Regions from separate parts of the Homo sapiens genome. Here region 1 is linked to region 2. The links are contacts of gene promoters, found by promoter capture Hi-C in human tissues and cell types (Jung and others, 2019). All regions are on one chromosome and are shown on one strand. Each heading gives the region's core, a stretch centred on a gene start or on the middle of the fragment in contact. The rest is flanking DNA. Distances are from core to core; before and after follow the strand shown.

Region 1 (5,000 bases), core at 177-2,676, 200 kb after region 2:
TTCCTGCGCCTCGGAGTCTCATCTGTAAAACGAGAATGTGAGATCCCCTACTTCATAAGGGAGTGGGGAAGATGAAATGAGACAGAGTCGTACGGGACTTGGCACATTGTGGGTGTTCAGTAAATGCAGGTTTCTCTCCTTTCACCACATGGATAGCAGCGTCAATTTCCATCTGCTTTGAAGAGAGACAAACCCAAGTTTGAATCCCACCTCTACCATTTCCTGGCTGTTTAATCTTGAGAAGCTATCTCCCCTCCCTGAACCCCAGCTTCATCTGTAGCGATGTGAATAACGCCAGCACACTTTAGGTCTTGTAGCAAGGCTCACCTAAGACAGTATGTCACGATTTCTAACAGTTTTCAGGCTCTCAGCCCAGGGTCCCGGGGTCTGGGGGGGACGGAGTTGTTCCATTTCCAACAAGCTCTTGGTGATGCTGGTACTGTGGATCTGGGGACCACACTTTGAGTCAAGTGGTGACGGAGGAAGGCCAGTGGGAGGGTGGGGGGGGGTGGAACAGAGGCAGCAGCTGGGAGACTTTTAGGTGGGCCATTGCCTTCAGGATGCCACCTGACTGAATTGGAGCTCAAGAGTATTTGGCAATGAATTAATTAATCTACTTATTTGTTTGTGCAACAAATAGATATTAAGTATCTTTTGCCATTACTTTTAATGCAAAACTAATTGCATGAATTACAATGAAAAGTAATGGCTGGCTGGGTGCAGGGGCTCACGCCTGTAATCCCAGCACTTTGGGAGGCTGAGGTGGGTTGATCATGAGGTCAGGAGTTCGAGACCAGCCTGACCAATATGGTGAAACCCTATCTCTACTAAAATACAAAAATTAGCCAGGCGTGGTGGTGCGCATCTGTAATCCCAGCTACTCAGGAGGCTGAGGCAGGAGAATCGCTTGAACCCGGGAGGCAGAGGTTGCAGTGAGCCAAGATTGTGCCATTGCACTCCAGCCTGGGCAATAGAGTGAGACTTTGTCTAAAAAAAAAAAAAAAAAGTAATGGCAAAAACTACTTAATGTTTTCGTTTTTGCCATGACTTTTAATGCAATTAATGCAATTACTTTTGCACCAACCTAATATATCAGTGCTGGGGTAGGGAGTCAGTTCCTGTCCTCTTGGGGTCTTAGTGCAGAAGGGGTCAGGAGGTGCTTTTTACACCCCAATCCCCACGAACTGTGGTTGCCCCAGCAGAGGCCACCATGAGTTCTAAGACAGGGCACTCACCCCAGCCTGAAGGTCAGGGGAGGCCAAGCTTGAGGTCCTAGGACGAGGACAAATCACCCTGTGGAGGAGGGTGGGAGAGGTGTCCGGGCAGGAGAGGTGTCTGGGCAGGTGTGGTGTGGTAAGCAAGTCACAGAGACACGCAGCCAAGACAGAGTCTATGTCTCCACCATTGTTTGACAGTCTCGTGAGGAGGCTTGGGAGGCAGGGAGAGTTGGAGTCACTGCTGTGCCCTGGCCGCCCTGTGTCACCGACATGCTATGTGACTTCTCTAAGGGACATCCCCTCCGCTTCTGTAAGGTAGAGGTGAGGATGCCTGTCTGAGTGCTTTAGGGAGGAGAAGGTTGAAAGAGACCACAGCAGTCAGGAGTCTGGCTCCTAGCAGGAGGTCAGCTACTCTCAAATCCCCTCGTGACGACAGGGAAATCCACTGTCCAAGTGTGGGGTCCTCATCTCCCTGTGGCCTCCATGGGTGGGCAGGGGTCCCCTGCCCTGTGGTGCTCACCATGCCTCCTCGACCCCGATCAGGTTGTCAGATGAGGAGGGAGAGCATGCCAGGGTCCCAGGGAGACTGGTTTGGTCAGAGCCTCAGCCCCTAAACCCCTTGTCACAGCCTGGCAAGAGACCAGAGACCTGGCTGAGATAACAGGGTTATTGCCACAAACAGACTCCTCCAGATAAAGAGGGAAGAATAAGAACCTTGTTTGTCCTCTCCTGGCCTGACACCCAGTAGCATTCTACCTCCCAGATGGCTGGGCTGCTGTGACCCAGGGCTGACCTGACTTCAGAACTGCCTCTTGGTGCCCACCCTCCTCTGGCCCACTTCCCACTCCCCACTCCTGACCCCACCTGCTTATCTGTTTATTTTTCCCATGAGAGTTTATGTATTTTCCCAGAGGGTGCAGTGTGGTGTAGGAGAAAGGGCATGGAAATCCACAGGAGGTCTGAGCTTGGATCTCTGGGATCCAGTCCTCTGGGTGGGCTGCTTACCTCGGGGGTGACCCACTGTCCTGGTTTGCCTGGGACTAAAGGGGTTCCTGAGACATGGGACTTCCAGTTTTAGAACTGGGACAGTGCCAAGAAACTGGGGATGTGTTGATCGCTCTGTTTACCTCTCTGAACCTCAATTTGCTCATATCTAAAACCAGGATAGTTACTATCTGTCGGAGGACGAAATGGGATAATGCAGGGAAGCATCTAGCACATGGTGAGTCCTCAGTGATGGTTTTGGTTATTTATTTCCCTGCCTGGAGGAAATTGCAGGGCCTTGACCTTGCATTTCTCACCTCCCTATTCCCAGGAACTTTTCTCAACAGTGCATTTGAGAACTCACTAAACCCATCTGTTGTACTTTGCCCCGAATGGCTTTCGATTGACAAAGTTCAAGCAATAGAGACAGCTTAGTAAAGGGAGACAGATGGAAAATCAGGAGACTGGGCCCACTCTTGACTCTGCCACTAACTTGCTGTGTGACCTTGGGGAAATTGCTTTGCCTCTCTGGGCCTCCATTTTTCCATCTACAAAATGGAAGATTGGACTGGATAGTGCTAAGTGTACCTTCCAGCTGTAACATGCAGTGATTCTGCAGTACTGATGCTCATTACCCTGTGAGCTGCAATGGGGGAGTTAGGAAGGGAGGGAGATCTGGTTGATCCTGGTACAGGGGTGAAGGGGGAGGAGGGACAAACTTCTGGTGCCTCCACAGGCAGCAACTAAAATATGAAAAATGGCATCAGATGGACAATGACAAGGGCAACTTAAAGACAGTGCAATTGGTTGATGTCTGCAAAGCAGCCCGGGACCAGGCCCCTGGGCATTCCTTTACTTAAATTATTCCTTTGCTCATTCATTTGTTCCCTCCTTCATTCCTATCTTTATTTGTTCATTCATTTATTCATTCATTCTTCTGCTGAGTGACATCGTAGCATAACGATGGATAGCATGGACTCTGAAGCCAGTTTGCCTGGGTTTGAAGCCCAGCTCTGCCATTTAGTTCTGTGACCCTGACAAGTACCTTGACTTCTCCGTGCCTCTGTTTCCTGATCTGTAATCAGTGTCTGGCATTTGGAAAGTGCTACATACATGTTTGCAATTATTGTTTGTTTATTCTTTCACCATTTGCTAGAAGATGGCTATGTGACAGGCACTGGGCTGGGTGGCCACCAGCGAATCAGGGGAAGTCACAAAGGGTTAAATAGGTAATTACTAAGTCATGTGGTCAGCGTTGTGGTGCGGGTAAGCACAGGGTGCTATGGAAATGCAGAGGAAGGGCACCTAACCTGGATGGGTTGGGCTAGAGAGGAGGAGTGTTCCAGAGAGACTTCCTGGCAGAGGTGATATCTGACCTGGGTTAGCCTGTGAGCTGCAGTGGAGGAACTGAGGAGGTTAGCCAGGAGGTGAAGGGGGTGGGGTGATGGGAACCTCTTGGAGGGGAATGGCTTGGAGGGGAGAATACGGATATTCAGGGAACAGATATGGTTTGGTGCGGCTTGCTGGGGGATGGGTGTGTTACTCCGTTTTCATGCTGCTGATAAAGACTACCCGAGACTGGGTAATTTATAAAGAAAAAGAGGTTTAATGGACTCACAGTTCTATGTGGCTGGGGAGGCCTCACAATCATGGCAGAAGGCAAAAGGCATGTCTTACATGGTAGCAGACAAGACAAAATGAAAACCAAGCCAAAGGGGTTTCTTCTTATAAAATCATCAGATCTCGTGAGACTTATTCACTATCACGAGAACACTATGAGAGAAGCCACCTCCGTGATTCAATTATCTCCCACCAGGTCCCTCCCACAACACATGGGAATTATGGGAGCCACAATTCAACATGAGATTTGGGTGGGGACACAGCCAAACCATATCAGTGAGGGAGGTGGCAGATGAAACTGGAGGGAGAAGCAAAGCCTTGACTATGCTGGACATTCCAGGACTGCTAAAGAGGAAATATTTTATCAGCTGGACTAGTGTTTCCAACCTTTAGAAGCATGCTGGAAATAAACCCTCCATTATATGGAGATTTATTTATAACTAAGTTATATACGTGCACTACTGTACACTTGTATCATATACACTATAAGACACACAAAAATAGAAAAATGAAAAACATGAGATAAAAAAAAAATACATGTAGGTTGGGCATGGTGGCTAACAGCTGTAATCCCAGTGCTTTGGGAGGCAAAGGTGGGAGGATCACTTGAGGCCAGGAGTTCAAGACCAGCCTGGGCAATATAGGGAGACTCCATCTCTACAAAATAAATAAATAAATAAAATTAGCCAGGCATAGTTGCATGCACCTGTAGTCCTAGCAACTCGGGAGGTTGAGGCAGAAGGATTGCTTGAGCCCAGGAGTTTAAGGCTACAGCGAGCTATGATGAGAAAAAAAGGAATACATATAAATAGAACCTCTGCTACTCTTTCTCCCTAAGCCGATGGCTTTTCCTACGCGTCCCCTGGATTCCCCTCCACCCCACTTTTGAGCTTACTACTTAATACCATGGGGTGCCTGAAGGGATGGAAATGGAAGAGAGCAGGTTTTTTACCTTTAAAAGACCACTTAGATATTTATATTCACTGGTATTCCTATAGTCATTAAAATGAAGACATAGCTGTCTATTATTAACATCAAAAGGTGCTAATCTATTAAACAGACAAGTTGTAGGGAGACCAACCATCCCGGTTTGCCCAGGACTGAGTGGTTTTCTGGAACACAGGAGCTTCAGTGCAAAAGCCAGGACAGTCCCAGGTAAACTGGGTCACCCTAGTTGTA
Region 2 (4,882 bases), core at 935-3,434:
TAGAACTTTTCCAGCTCCCAGCAGGCCTCCTCATCACTACCTCTACACAAATCTTTAAACCATACCATTCATCAATGTCTGCCATTTTTACTTCATTGAATTCCCTGTAACATGACTGTATCATGTCTTTTATCATTTTAAATTTCAGTTCCTTGGCAGACACTTGGGATTAGAATGGAACAAGTATTTTAAGTCCTTCAGTTAATTCATAAAAGTTATTTATTGTTTTTTAGTTTCTATCTTATTTCCTGGACCAGAATATTAGAAGCTTGTGTTTCATCTAGAAGTCTTTTATTAGTCTCTTTTGTCATCTAAATTTATAACATAGATGCCATTCCAAATCTTTGTGGCAACACAAGACCAAACCTCCAGTACTGAAATAAATGTGGCATTTATAAAGGAAGTTCTTTATCTGGAGTGCTCTCTCCCAATCTATTAACCAGAAATATAAAGTATATAATAAATAATTTAGGTAAAGGTGAAAATCTCCCTGTGATAGTTTGCATTTGCCTTTTATTCTCCTGGAGAGGGAAGGGAGGACAGCAGATACATTTGATCTTTTATTTCCTGAAATTTCTCCAAGACAGCTTTTGCAGATTAATTTTGTCCTCTGGTTAAAATAAAATTCATGTCCCAAAGCCATTATAAAATTCTGGGTCTCCAGCCTTTCCTTAGGGCTCTGGTTCAGTATCTTGAAATACTGCAATATTTATAGTGTTATGGAAAGTTCTTTTTCATTTCTGATGTTTTTATGTTTAAGAAACTTGCTGTTATTATTATCCTCTGGTAAGTAGGCACTGAAGGAAAATCCCTACTGCTGTCATCAAAGCCACATTTTCCTCCAAGACCGGCTTTGACTTGACTGAATTTTATTTCGAATGTAAAGATGCAGGCTGGGCGCAGTGGGTCAAGCCTGTAATCCCAGCACTTTGGGAGTCCAAGGTGGGAGGAACCTAGGACTTCGAAAACAGCTTGGGCTACGTAGGGAGACCTGTCTCTTAAAAACAAACAAAAAAAATTAAGAGTGGTGGCCTGCACCTGTATAGTCTCAGCTACTGGGGAGGCTGAGGCTGGAAGATCACTTGAGCCAGGGAGGTGGAGGCTGCAGCCAGCTGCAACTCTGCCACTGCACTCCAGCCTGGGCTATTGGGCGACAGAGCAAGATCCTGTCTCAAAAAAGGTAAAGTAGGTCATATCTTAATAAAAGTGCAGATTAATCACTAGGTACCAATTCATTTATCAGTGTTACACACCAAGAACAAAAGCTCTTCCTAAACTTAGGGGGAGAATTTCAGGGCTTTAGGAATTTGAAACCGTCTTCACAGTTCCTTCCCAGTCTTATTTAGGCCAGCTGTAGGCCACAGGCTAGAGCTTGAAGCCGTCCACCAATATCTCACTCACAGGACTGTCCTTAATGCACGAATACCTTTCCTCGAGCAAACTGCTTTTCCCTCTTAGACCTTGTAGCCAGATCATTTTACCGGCAAAAGTCTCAGACATCTCCTGTGAATAAAAGCTTACATTCTTTCCTTGCCAGTAGAAAAAAGGGGAACACGTAAGCATACGTGGCAAATTGCAAAGAGGGATGCATTGTACGAGCTGGTCAGATTGTTAATGAGGGCAATCCAAACAGAAGAGATTTGAGTGCTAAGGGAATACGGATCAGTGATTAAAAGGTGTTGTGAGAGGGAGAAATCTTTGTAAACTATGGCGCTCTTTAGTATTACTATTGGGGGGATCTAGGCAGGGGAAGAAGCAGGTGAAAGCGTTTTAGGCTTCGGCCTCCTCTTGTCGTCCTTAGCTGTCCCAGGCCAGGGCCATTCTATACGCCGAGGCGTAGTCAACTCTGCTGCCCTAGACTTGCCCACTGAACCCATGCCCCAGACTCACCTTTACCCGCTGCCCGGAAGCCAAGTCGCTACCACCTGCTTGAGCAACTCCCACCGCGCAGGCTCAGAAGTTAACGCTCTCCCGCCTTTCCCCGCTGCGCTACCTTCTGAGCAGGCGCAGCGTCTCCGATCCGTTCCCTCGCCGCGGCTCGACCCCGGTGAGAGCAAAGGCCGCTCCGCGCGTCGCGTTTTTGACCCATGACGGCGGCGCGCAGTCTGACGCGACAGATTGCGTCACTTCCGCCCCCTCCTGGGAGGCGGCGCTGGGCCGGTGGCAAGCCCCCGGAGGGAGCCGCAGTAGTACGACGGAAGATGGCGACGAGCGGCGGCGAAGAGGCGGCGGCAGCGGCTCCGGCGCCGGGGACCCCGGCAACGGGGGCGGACACGACCCCGGGCTGGGAGGTGGCTGTGCGGCCCCTGCTGTCCGCGTCCTACTCCGCCTTCGAGATGAAGGAGTTGCCGCAGCTGGTGGCCTCAGTCATCGAGAGGTACCGGGCGGCGGCTCTGGCGGGCGACGCTGTTGTGGGGGGAGGGGATTTCGAGCCGGATCGTCTGGACCCGCTTTCCGGGCCGCCCCCTGCCCCCTTGAGGATCCCCGCCACAGCCACGGCTTCGGGGTCCCGGGCCCGGGGAGACTGGCTTGCCTGGGTTTCCCTCCGCCAACGCATGTAAATCACCTCTACCTCAGTTTCCCCTCTCGAGCAAAACTTTAGCGGCCTCCCTGCGGGAGGGCGTGGCCGGACATGGTTGAGAGTGAGATGCATTCGCCCTCTTAAGGGAATGTTCACGGGGCTGCCCCTTGGGTCAAGTCACAGATGAGTTTGCATTTCTCGCCCGCACTCATCCTCCTAGCCTGGGCCGGAGCGGAGCCGTACGGTATAATTTAATAACGGTCTCCCCGCGGTGCTGTAATCAGTGGGGGCACGTGCTATTTCTGTGACTGAAGCCACTAGCTACATTGATGACCTCTTTTTACGTTGCACTCCTTGTGCATTCCTACTGTATCGGTCTTTGATTAAAAACATTTCAGTGTGTGTCTGAGAGATCATTTTCCCAGAGGATGTGTGGTGTGTGTGTTCTCTTGCTGCCTCCCATCCCCCTCGCATTAAAATATCATCACATTCTTTTACAAACGGTACTATCTGTTGGTTTCCTTTTGTGTGTTTTTGTCTTTTTGCACAGCGATTCTTAGCTAGTGACAGTTATGTAGGTACAAAGATGGTGATCTCAGAGTGCCTGCCTTTTCCTGACATACTGTGCTCAGAGCAGTCTTTCATTAGTTTAATGGTAGACTTTTGCTTTTAAAGCCAGACTGACTTTCATTTTTCTAGCCATACCTCATTTCAGCAACTCCCTGCAATTGTTAACTGGGTCATTTTAGCTTCACGATGACAAGGGTATATCTAGCTGCTATCCAGAGGTTAAAAATTGCTATTTGTTACTCAAAGGAGGCCCACGGTTTGACAAATTGTTTTTGTGCTTTTTCTTGTTGTAGACTTGTAATCCTTTGGATGCAGAGTTTTTAACAAATTATAATAAAATAATGGTTGAGTTTGGTAACTTCACAGTCAGCTTTACAGACGGATTTTGCTATCTAATCATCAGGCCAGGAATGTTCTGAAGATGTAAACAGGTTTCAAATATACTACTTTCAAATTACGTGGCTGCTTTTTGTTTTAAACATTTGGATTGGCAGTATTTTTCCTGACTCATACTCATGTTACGTAGAATCAGTAACGTTCCAGTCTTTTTAGAGCATTTGCTTTTATGTTTTTCTGGACATGAGCTGGATAGGTTATAAAATATTAATAATTTGTTGACACCCTTCCATAAATCCTGTATTCTGGGGCCACCTTTAAAGCTGTAATACTTAAGGAACACCCTCCAACCAAATACATCACTAGGTTTGAATTTTGCCATGTATGTGGTAGTGGTCTTTGCCATACCCTCTGTTTGTACAAATAATCAAGAGTTGTATTTGTAGACATTAATAAGATCTCTCTTTATGGCTTAGAAAATAAGTCCAAACTGATGGGTCTTTGGTAACGCATTTATTGGAAGGCAAGATCTCTTTTTTTTTTTTTTTTTTTTTTTGAGATGGATTCTTGCTCTGTCACCCAGGCTGGAATGCAGTGGCGCCATCTCAGCTCACTGCAAGCTCCACCTCCCAGGTTCACACCATTCTCCTGCCTCAGCCTCCCAAGTAGCTGGGACTACAGGTGCCTGCCACCACGCCCAGCTAACTTTTTGTATTTTAAGTAGAGATGAGGTTTCACCATGTTAGCCAGAATGGTCTCCATATCCTGACCTTGTGATCCACCCGCCTTGGCCTCCCAAAGTGCTGGAATTACAGGCATGAGCTACCGTGCCCAGCCGGAAGGCAAGATCTTTTAAGTCTTCTGGTTTTTGGAGCTCAGTTAGCTTTGAAAGCCTATGTGTCCTCTGCAGGCTGTGTGAGAGGAGTATGATCTAAAGAAAAATTTCCAGAAGAAATACCTGGCTTACAAGTTCTTTACAGTGAGAACAGCTAAACGTATCAAGTGTTCAGTTTGTTATAAAGCAGGCGTTGGCAAACGTCCTGTAAATGGCCAGATAGTAGATAATTTTGGGACATGTGGTCTCTGTCTGGACTGTTTAACTCTGCCATCATTGTGTGAAAGCAGCCACACACCATATATAAATGAATGGGCATGGCTGTGTTTAAAATTATATCTATGGGCACTGAAATTTGAATTTCATGTAATATTTACATGTCACAAACTATTCTTTTGATTTTTTTTTTTTCAACCACTCTTAGCCATACAAAAACAGGTGACTTCCTGGATTTGGCCTGCAGGCCATAGTTTGCCAACCCCTAGCTTGGAGCACACAAATTATACCCTGCTATCATTATTCTGGTTTTCAAAAGTTTTATTTATTTATTTATTTTTTGGAGACAGAGTCTTGCTGTGTCACCCAGGCTGGAGTGCAGTGGCACGATTTTACCTCACTGC

What was found. The method cuts DNA at HindIII sites, captures the fragments that hold promoters and counts their contacts. A contact is called where the count stands out against the background at its distance.
Region 1: a contact is called between a fragment that was not itself captured here and the fragment with the promoter of UBR4 in region 2, in 1 of the 25 tissues and cell types used here (pancreas).

The regions. Positions count from the first base shown.
Region 1 is chr1:19,004,697-19,009,696 of GRCh38, reverse strand. All of the region lies in intron 1 of LOC105376815 (a long non-coding RNA gene), which reads left to right. Among named protein-coding and RNA genes, the nearest start is that of IFFO2, 51 kb to the right of the region's middle. RefSeq lists an enhancer at 769-1,412. The HindIII fragment of the contact is 6,337 bases long and covers 1-4,594 here.
Region 2 is chr1:19,207,568-19,212,449 of GRCh38, reverse strand. UBR4 (ubiquitin protein ligase E3 component n-recognin 4) reads left to right here and starts at 2,184. Exons shown (of 106, transcript NM_020765.3): 1 at 2,184-2,377. The coding sequence starts at 2,202. EMC1-AS1 (EMC1 antisense RNA 1) reads right to left here and starts at 2,064. Exons shown (of 2, transcript NR_135114.1): 1 at 1,891-2,064. RefSeq lists silencers at 1,100-1,169, 2,195-2,514 and enhancers at 1,795-1,844, 2,095-2,144. The HindIII fragment of the contact is 7,870 bases long and covers 893-4,882 here.